Regions from separate parts of the Homo sapiens genome. Here regions 1 and 2 are each linked to region 3. Evidence: promoter capture Hi-C in 16 types of primary human blood cells and fetal thymus (Javierre and others, 2016). All regions are on one chromosome and are shown on one strand. The core of a region is centred on a gene start or on the middle of the fragment in contact, and the rest is flanking DNA. Distances in the headings are between cores, read along the strand shown. Region 1 overlaps LOC105376119 (a long non-coding RNA gene). Region 2 has its middle 370 kb from the start of AGTPBP1. Region 3 holds the start of NTRK2 (neurotrophic receptor tyrosine kinase 2).

Region 1 (3,305 bases), core at 422-2,921, 600 kb before region 3:
GGGCGTGGTGGCTCACGTCTGTAATCCCTGCACTTTGGGAGGCTGAGGTGGGTGGATCACCTGAGGTTGGGAGTTCGAGACCAGCCTGACCAGCATGAGGAACCCCGTCTCTACTAAAAATACAAAATTAGTCAGGCATGGTGGCACATGCTTGTGATCCCAGCTACTAGGGAGGCTGAGGCAGGATAATTGGTTGAACCCAGGAGGTGAAGGTTGCGGTTAGCCGAGACCGCACCATTGCACTCCAGCCTTAGCAACAAGACTGAGACTCTGTCTCAAAAAAAAAAAAAAAAAAGGAAAAAGAAAAAAAAAGAAAGAAACGCTGAGTAAATAAAAGATAAGGTGGTGCAGTAGTCACTGTTGATGTCCTGCCCATATAACATTGGCCTGCGCCATTCTAGTGCGTACTCACCTCCTCCTACTGCAGGTACCTCCAACTCTCCACATGAGGGCTTTCTCTTGGCTTTGTATGGGGAGGGTCAGAAGCATTGGTAGTTCATGCCTCTGGAAACAGCTCGAAATCAATGATGGACAGGGATTGGTGGATGAATACCCCAGCTTTCTCATTTCTTGCTGGGGATAATTGCTGGGGATAACTAGAAAGGTTTTGTATTCTTTATCGGAGTCCTCATTGGAGTTGAACCCCAGTTGTCCTAGTAGTAAGTTACTTGATAATACATCCTTTATTGGTTTCCTTCCTTTCCCCTTTTTATTGTCCTATTCCCTTATCAGAGCTTTCTGAGATCACTTTTTTTTTAAAATTGAAAACTACTTGCACTGATATTCTTATCTTACGATCTTCTTCTGGAGGCAGCCATCCTGAGACAGGTGGCTATGGAAGGCATTTGAAAGGGGAGTAAGAACATCAGAAACAAACTTTCCCTACTTCGTTGTGACTTGGTTCAGATCTTCCCCTTCTCCTATATTCTTTTCCTGTGGTAAGGCTTTGCAAGAACAGCATTGTTCTATCTAAGCTAGTTAAAATAAAAAGACAAAATAACTGTATGATGAGCATCTAATGGATGGGATACCACATTTAAAAAGACAAAGACTTAGGGGGAAGTTCATGCTTTGTATGGTACTCTGAGAACAAAAATCTATTTCTGATCGATTTCTTCCTTAACATTCTACCCACCCCCAAAACCCCTCACTTCGTAAATCCGGGCAACTATACCTCAGGTTTCAGACAATATGCCTTTGACCTGGGTTGTCTTCAAGATAACCTTGACAAGAGATGAATTCTTAAAGATTTTCTTTAGTGTTCTGTATTTATATTTAATGTTCTGATAATCTGTCGAAGATTCTTCTAGGGCACTGAAGATAGCAAGTAGTCAGAAAACAAATAGTGAAGGGGCTTCCCATGGCAGTTAATGGTCAATACCTGTTGAGACCCCAGAGAAAATAAAAAATGATTCCTAATGATTGCTGGAGGTTGTGGCACTAATGGAATATATTTATATGCATAATTAAAAATGGTATCCTTTTGAAATTCACTGATTTTTGGATGTGTGATTACATTAGGCTTAAGTTTACCTTCCTTACATCTTCTAAAAAAGTGGGGGAAGTGTGTAACTATATTTCAGGGTGCACAAGCCACTATTAATTCTGCCGCCAGGTGGAATCTGAAAGTGGCACCATAATCATCATTTTCCACCTTGAAATTGAGGATGTCTATATGTGTCCTCTGAGTCCTCCTCTCTCTCCACCAGCCCCATAATCACTACCTTGTATCTTCACTTATGTCTCTATCTCCTGCTTTGGTTAGCGGGCTCCTCTAAGGACATAGCTACATTTTAGCTATCTTTAGATTTCAGGCAACAATGAACACATACTGAGTGCTCAGTAAATGGTTGTTGAGTTGAATTTTTAAGAATTTCATGCATCCATTAAATGGAAGTAATCGACTCACTAATTAAAAATGACCTTCACCTTTTATGAAAGGAATTGATCATAGATCTTGACGTTTCCAAACTTTGGTTATTAGTTTGTGCAGTTGGTTAAAAAAAAATTCTTCAGTTCTTAGTAATTATTCTGTAATGTGGAACTATTTTATATATTGTCCTCCCCCTATTGCTTTTCATGTTTAATGATATTTGTTGTATTTCCAAAGGAAAAAAGGGGTTTGGAAGGCCAAAGGGAATTAAAATATAGAATAAAGTGGTATGGAGAGTTTCAGAAAAGGAAGAAGAAAATTTCAAAGGCAAGATAATGTATTCTTGTGAAAGTCTGCGGGAAGTCAGTCTCATTTAGCCAAAATCAACTCAGCACTTACTATTAGCCAAGAACCATGACAAGTAATCTGAGGGATGTAAAGGTTAATAATAGTTCTCAAGAAGCAACCAAAAACTTTAAAAAGTGATCATATTTGCTTAGCGCAAGGATTGATGGAGGTAAGTGGGGCTGACTTTGAAAAACCTGTATTTTAAAAATTACATATACATATTATATTTGGAAAAATACAGTATACATGTATTGATGTGATATAAAAATGAAATGGGCAAAAAGAAGCTGAAGAAGGGCCCAGAAATGGGAGGTGGGATTGGGCAGGAATTTTACTTATTTATTTATTTATTTATTTTTGAGACGAAGTCTTGCAGTGTTGCCCAGGCTGAAGTGCAGTGGTGCGATCTCGGCTCACTGCAAGGTCCACCTCCCGGATTCATGCCATTCTCCTGCCTCAGCCTCCCGAGTAGCTGGGACTACAGGCGCCCACCACCACGCCTGGCTAATTTTTTGTACTTATAGTAGAGATGGGGTTTCACCAAGTTAGCACCTGAAATCTCAAAACACGGGGGTTTGAGGTCAGGAGATCGAGACCATCCTGGCTAACATGGTGAAACCCCATCTCTACTAAAAATACAAAAAATTAGCCGGGCGTGGTGGTGGGTGCCTGTAGTCCCAGCTACTCGGGAGGCTGAGGTAGGAGAATGGTGTGAATCCGGGAGGTGGAGCTTGCAGTGAGCCGAGATCGTGCCACTGCACTCCAGTCCGGGTGACAAAGCGAGACTCCGTCTTAAAAAAAAAAAAAAAAAATTAGCCGTGGTGGCAGGCGCCTGTAATCCCAGTGACTCGGGAGGCTGAGGCAGGAGAATCACTTGAACCCTGGAGGCGGAGGTTGCAGTAAGCCGAGATGGCGCCACTGCACTCCAGCTTGGGTGACAGAGTGAGACTCGGTCTAAAAAAAAAAAAAAAGAAAGAAAAAGAAAAAGGAAAGGAAAAAGAAACCATTGCGGGTTGAATTAGAATTCTCAGTCAGACGCCTCCTGGCTGTGTGGTCTTAGGCAATCTTCTTTTCTAAGCCTCCA
Region 2 (3,191 bases), core at 557-3,056, 700 kb before region 3:
TGGTGGAAACTGAAAGTTTGACTATGGATCATCAAGTCACCATGCAACCTGAACTGCCTATCATGAACTGGGTGCTTTCTGACCCATCTAGCCATAAAGTGGGTCATGCACAGCAGCATTCCATCATCAAATGGAAGTGGTATATACGTGATTGGGCTTAAGCAGATCCTGAAGGCCAAGTAAGTTACATAAGGAAGTGGCTCAAATGCCCATGATCTCCACTCCTGCCACCCTACCTTCTCTCCTCCAGCCTGCACCAATGGCCTCATAGGGAGTTCCCTATGATCAGTTGACAGAGGAAGAGAAGACTAGGGCCTGGTTCACAGATGGTTCTGCACGATATGCAGGCACCACCTGAAAGTGGACAGCTGTGGCACTACAGTCCCTTTCTAGGATATCCCTGGAGGACAGCGTGAAAGGAAATCTTCCCAGTGGGCAGAACTTCGAGCAGTACACCTTGTTGTGCACTTTGCATGGAAGGAGAAATGGCCAGATGTGCAATTACATACTGACTTATGGGCTGTAGCCAATGGTTTGGCTGGATGGTCAGGGACTTGGAAGTAGCATGATTGGAGAATTGGTGACAAAGAATGTTGGGGAAGAGGTATGTGGATGGACCTCTCTGAGTTGTTAAAAGCTGTGAAGATATTTGTATCCTATGTGAGTGCTCACTGACAGATGACCTCTGCAGAGGAGGATTTCAATAATCAAGTGGATAGGATGACCCATTTTGTGGACACCACTCAGCCTCTTTCCCCAGCTACTCCTGTCATCGCCCACTGGGCCCATGAATAAAGTGGCCATGGTGGCAGGGGTGGAGGTTATGCATGGGCTTAGCAACATGGACTTCCACTCACCAAGGCTGACCTGGCTACGGCCACTGCTGAGTGCCCAATTTGCCAGCAGCAGAGACCAACACTGAGACTTTGATATGGCACCATTCCTCGGGGTCATCAGCCAGCTACCTGGTAGCAGGTTGATTATATTGGACCTCTTCCATCATGGAAAGGGCAGAGGTTTGTCCTCACTGCAATAAACACTTACTCCAGATATGGGTTTGCCTATCCTGCATGCAGTGCTTCTGCCAAGACTACCATCCATGGACTCACAGAACGCCTTATCCACTGTCATGGTATTCCACGCAGCACTGCCTCTGAACAAGAAACTCACTTTACAGCTAAAGAAGTGTGGCAGTGAGTTCATGCTCATGGAAGTCACTTGTCTTACCATGTTCCCCATCATCCTGAAGCAGCTGGATTGATAGAATGGTGGAATGGCCATTTGAAGTTACAATTACGATCAATTACAATGCCAACTAGATGATAATACTTTGCATGGCTGCGGCAAAGTTCTCCCAAAGGTTGTGTATACTCTGAATCAGCGTCCAATATATGGTACTGAATCTGCCATAGGCAGGATTCACAGATCCAGGAATCAAGGGGTGGAAGTGGAAGTGGCACCACTCACCAACACCCCTAGTGATTCGTTAGCAAAATTTTTGCTTCCTGTTCCCTCTACATTACGTTCTGCTGGCCTAAAGGTCTTAGTTCTAGAGGGAGGAATGCTGCCACCAGGAGACATGACAATGCCATTAAACTGGAAGTTAAGATTGCCACCTGGACACTGTGGGCTCCTCCTACATTTAAGTCAACAAGCTAAGAAGGGAGTTACAGCATTGGCTGTGGTGATTGACCTGGACTGTGAAGATGAAATCAGTCTACTATTCCACAATGGAGGGAAGGAAGAGTATGTATGGAATACAGGAGATCCATTACGGTGTCTCTTAGTATTACCATGACCTGTGATTAAGGTTAATGGGAAACTACAACAGCCCAATCTGGTCAGGACTACAAATGACCCAGGCCCTTCAGGAATGAAGGTTTAGTTCACTCCACCAGGAAAAAAGCTATGACCTGCTGAGGTGCTTGCTGACAGCAAAGGGAATACAGAATGAGTAGTAGAAGAAGGTAGTCATTAATACCAGCTATAACCAGGGGACCAGCTGCAGAAATGAGGACTGTAATTGTCATGAGTATTTCCTCCTTCTTTTGTTAAAAACATGTTTGTGCATGTATACACTTGTACTAAGAAAACATCTTCATTTTATTTCCTTTTTCCTTTATCATGTGACATAAGATTTATTGACTTCACATCAGCATTTAAGTACTGTTAACTTTCTGTAATAGTATTTGGGTTGAGGATTGGTGCATTTCCGGTTGTACGAAGGATAGTTGTATTATGTTAGGTGTAATTATGACCTTATTATTGTCTTTATTTGAAGATTATGTGTGATCTCAGGAGACGTGTATGGGTTCAAGTTGACAAGGGGCAGACTTGTGATGGTTAATACTGAGTGGCAACTTGATTGGATTGAGGGATGCAAAGCATTGATCTTGGGTGTGTCTGTGAGGGTGTTGCCAAAGGAGATTAACATTTGAGTCAGTGGGCTGAGGAAGGCAGACCTACCCTTATTCTGGGTGGGCACCATCTAATCAGCTGCTAGCAAATATAAAGCAGGCAGAAAAACGTGAAAAGGCTACACTGGCCTAGCCTCCCAGCCTACATCTTTCTCCCGTGCTGGATGCTTCCTGTCCTTAAACATCGAACTCCAAGTTCTTCAGCGTTGGCACTTGGACTGGCTTCCTTGCTCCTCAGCTTGCAGATGGCCTATTGTAGGATCTTGTGATTGTATGAGTTAATACTACTTAATAAACTCCCTTTTAAATATATATCTATCCTATTAATTCTGTCCCTCTAGAGAACCACGACTAACACAGAGATAAACAATGAGAACACATGGACACATAAAGGGGAACAATGGACACTGGGGCATACTTGAGGGTTGAGAGTGGGAGGACAGAGAGGAGCAGACAGAATACCTATCAGGCACTTTGCTTATTACCTGGGTGATGAAATAATCTGTATACCAAAGCTCCATGACACATGGTTTACCAACACAGCAAACCTGCACATGTACCTAAAATAAAAGTCAAAAAAAATTTGCTCCAGGACCAAAGAACTTTCCCTGGTTTCTCTCAATGTCAGCACTAGAAACTAAAGTGCACAAAAATCATGGGAAATTCCATTGGCTTTATCAAGCAGTCAACTTTGATCAATCTATGTGAACTGTAAGAATAAAATAGGAATTTGGGGGTTTTAGATATAAAAATCAGCTGTTCATTATCTGAAAA
Region 3 (3,501 bases), core at 914-3,413:
CACAGGAATGCTAGAGAAAGGACTGGCAAGTTCTTGCTTGGTGATGCATTTGTCACAAAGCATCAGAAAAGGAGAATAGAAATACACAGTTCTGTTTCTTCAAGCCACAACAAGCTCAAACATTTCCAGGGACACAGAGGTCCAATGCTAAAGCCAGCCTTCATCAGAGTTCTACCCAGTGCTTTATCATCCAACCTAGTCCTGGGAAATTATTCAATGGGCAATTAAGAGTTATAATCCAAGTGGTCTCAAAATCATATCTCTGGGAAGTCAAGTCCAAATTAAATTAGACCAGGCTTTTAGGCTTCCAACTATCATATTTTTTTCTTTTGAGCGAGTGCATTTCAACACTCAGAACTTCTCCTCTTACAGATCATTTTCAAGGCCATCTCTGGATGCCATCTCCTAAGCAAAATCCGATATATAAAATGAAAAGGGAAATTGGTTAACTTAAATCTCAAAAAAGATGTTAAGGGAGAGACTGTCACTTCCCTCAACAGATTTGGGAAAGTTAATTATTTTAACCTCTTTTCTAGTGAATATTAATGGAACTTCTAACACAACATACACACAGCACTTTATGAAACAAAAATGCCCAAAACTAAGTTAGTGCATACTGAAAGCCTAAAGCACACCCAGCAGAGCTTTGAAATATAAAAAGCATAGTGAGTTCCTTCCCACGAGGAATAAATATATAATCGGCATATGTATATCTATATTTGAAACTTATTCTAAAGTGTCACACTTCTCCCTGCACTAGCAGTCCCAAGCCAGTGAAACAGCAGGTAACTGACAGATGACCCTGTCCTGCATCCCTTGTCTTTGACTTCTCCCCACTCTTGGGACAGCATTCACTTCCAGGACCTACCCACCTGGCCAGCTCGGGCCCTAGGGGCAAGGAGAAAAAGGAGGAAAAGCTCCAGGAACTCACATTTCGGTGATGTTCTCAGGATCTACACTGTTAGGCTCCAATCTCGGAAATGCCACGATGCCAGGAGAAGGGTCGCTGCACCAGATCCGAGAGGCACTGCATTTGCAGGACGTGGGACAGGCGAAAGCGGCCCTCCAGAAGCCCACAACCAGCCAGCAGAAGCCCCAGAGCCGCGCCATGGCGGGTCCATGCCACCTTATCCAGGACGACATCCCTAGCAGCCAGTGCCAGCCCGAGTGCCTGTCCCCGCGCTGCACCGGCCGCTTTCCCCCACCCGTGCGGGGAGGCCTTCCCTGCGCTTGCGGCTCTCTTAACTCCTCGGTGCTTGTTGCGGGCGTGCCGAGTCCAGCTTATCAGAGGCTGAGCTGGTCCGGAGCGAAGAGTGTTCCGGCAGGCGGCAGGGTTCACAGTGGCCCCGGCATAGCGAACCGCTTTACAGGGGGGCGCTACCGCTGCTCGGAGCTCCGCGGCGGCCGTCGCTGCATGGCCCGGCGCGCCGGGCACCGACCGGCGGCGCTCCCGGGACTCTCTGGGGCGCAGATTCCTTGTTAGATGCGAATGGGGGTCCGGTATGCACCTCGAGGCTGAGGACAAACAGACACGCGTAAGACTGAGCGTAGGACCCCCAACACCACTAATTGGGGCACTCTCCCTCTCTGCTCGCGTCATCCCCACCCCGACCCCAGCCCGGAGACTGTGGATGGATGAGTGCCCAGCTCCGGCCCAGGAATCAACTTGCCCCGCGATGGCACTGACGCCGCTGGAGCCACCAGTGTGCCCACTCTCTCTTCGAGCCTGAGGCCAAGGGAGGGGAGGTAGGGAAAGGGTCCCCAAGACAGGATTCCATGGTACAGGCCGGGCGAAGGACCCTTTAAAGGGGAATGCGGAGACTGCCGGCGGCTTTGGCTCCGCGACGGGGCCCCCGAATGATGCTGCAGAATCCGCCACGGCCGCTGGGTGCCGGTGGCGCGGGCAGGTGGCGCGGCACGTCCCACCTGGGGAGTAGCCGAGGCCGCCCCAGGGGGAGACAGTGAGGGCCGAGGCGACCGAGGGCACTATCTGCGCTGCTCACCCGGGCTCCGGCGCCTCACGCCCGCCGGCGGCGCCTGGGTCCAGGCTCCTGCTACCGCCGGGGACTGAGCGCGTAGAGCGCGAGCGAAGCAGCCAGCGAGGCTCCTGCTCCAACCCAATTCCGGGAGCCGCCGCCGCCGCCTCTGCTACTGCTGGCGAAGTGACGTGAGGGCTGACGCAGAGCAGGGGCAGAAACTCCAGAAAATTAGTCTGAAATCCAAAAACACACACACGCTCATACACACACAAACCCATAACACCCTCCAGACAAAAGCACCAGGGAGGGGAGGGGAATCTGGGGGCGAGCAGGGAGGAGGGAGGCATCGGTGCCACTGGCCAGAAGCAGACAGCAGCAGCATGTGGGAGTTCACACACGCGCGCACACACGCACACATCCTGGCCGTGTAGACATGCACGCGCGTGCGTGTGTGTGTCTGTGTGTGTGTGTGCATTTACATCCAGGTACCTCTAAGATGAACCGTTCCTCCGTTCGACGCCTCCCGGTCCCTAATTCACACCACAGTCTCTTCTACAATCGCGGTAGAGGCTGTCTCCCTTTTTGAAATGGAAACCGTGCTTGGTTCAGCTCTGAAAAATGCGCTGATTCTTATTATAGGAATCCTCCCTCCCTTCTCCCTCCCCGCGTTCTCCTTTCCCACCCTGCCTAAAAGGGAGGGCAAGCTATCCTAAAAATAAATAAATGTTGTAAACACCAAAACGTGTTCTGCATTGGTAACCAAGGATCACCGCCCCCATTCCGGGCCACCTATTTGGGGATCGGTGGTTTTGGAGGGGCTTCCTGTTGGTGCTTTTGCAGAGGGAAGGGAGTCTCCAAACACAATTCTAGCTCTCTAAGTGGGTCTTTTTCCTGCCGTTTTCTGCCATCACACGCCCGGGAAATAGAGACATGTGAGGGGAAGGGAGCGCGCCTGATGCGTATTCTAAATGCTCGGTGGCCACCCTGGCCTGTCCGATGTGTGGCGCCGCGTCATTTTCTCTCATCCTTTAACCTGACGGGATGTAGCCATTCCCAGATCGTGGATTCACTCCCCGCGATGCCCACCCCCACGTAGGGCATCCCAAGCCCTTGCTCCCCTGCCGTACCTTGCGCGTGTTCATGTGTGCTAGGGTGTGCGCGAACGCGTGCCCTGCGCCCGCGCTGCCCGGAGCACGATATGCATCCAGCTACGAAGAAGCCAGGCGCGGGCAGAGCCTCGGGGTCTCACTAGGGACAAATTAGGCGATCCGGGAGGGTCGGGTGACAAACCGTAACTATTCTGCGGGTGCAGTTAAATGATGGCTGCGGGGCATTTGCAAGCCTTGTCTGAGAATCCGTCTTCCCTTTTGCGGCTCGGAATCTGTTTTTCCGCAGTCATTTAAAAGAGAACGGGGAAAATACACCGCAGTGCCTGACACTTCCGAGGGCTCTGGTGCCCCCGCGCGGGGAGAGAGCGCCCGGCACGCTCCGGAGCACCAGCCCATGGCCCGGGTCGCGGCGG

The links. Contacts are between HindIII fragments. The CHiCAGO score rates a contact against its expected background, and 5 or more counts as called.
Region 1: a fragment that was not itself captured here is called in contact with the fragment with the promoter of NTRK2 in region 3 in 1 of 17 cell types (megakaryocytes); the score reaches 5.0 in megakaryocytes.
Region 2: a fragment that was not itself captured here is called in contact with the fragment with the promoter of NTRK2 in region 3 in 1 of 17 cell types (erythroblasts); the score reaches 5.1 in erythroblasts.

The regions. Positions count from the first base shown.
Region 1 is chr9:85,270,513-85,273,817 of GRCh38, reverse strand. The region is part of intron 3 of LOC105376119 (a long non-coding RNA gene); the gene reads left to right. Among named protein-coding and RNA genes, the nearest start is that of AGTPBP1, 470 kb to the left of the region's middle. The HindIII fragment of the contact is 5,117 bases long and covers 1-3,305 here.
Region 2 is chr9:85,369,742-85,372,932 of GRCh38, reverse strand. It overlaps the pseudogene LOC107987089. Among named protein-coding and RNA genes, the nearest start is that of AGTPBP1, 370 kb to the left of the region's middle. The HindIII fragment of the contact is 5,395 bases long and covers 1-3,191 here.
Region 3 is chr9:84,668,391-84,671,891 of GRCh38, reverse strand. NTRK2 (neurotrophic receptor tyrosine kinase 2) reads right to left here and starts at 2,163. Exons shown (of 19, transcript NM_006180.6): 1 at 2,004-2,163; 2 at 932-1,515. The coding sequence starts at 1,143. RefSeq lists a silencer at 3,419-3,501. The HindIII fragment of the contact is 10,588 bases long and covers 1-3,501 here.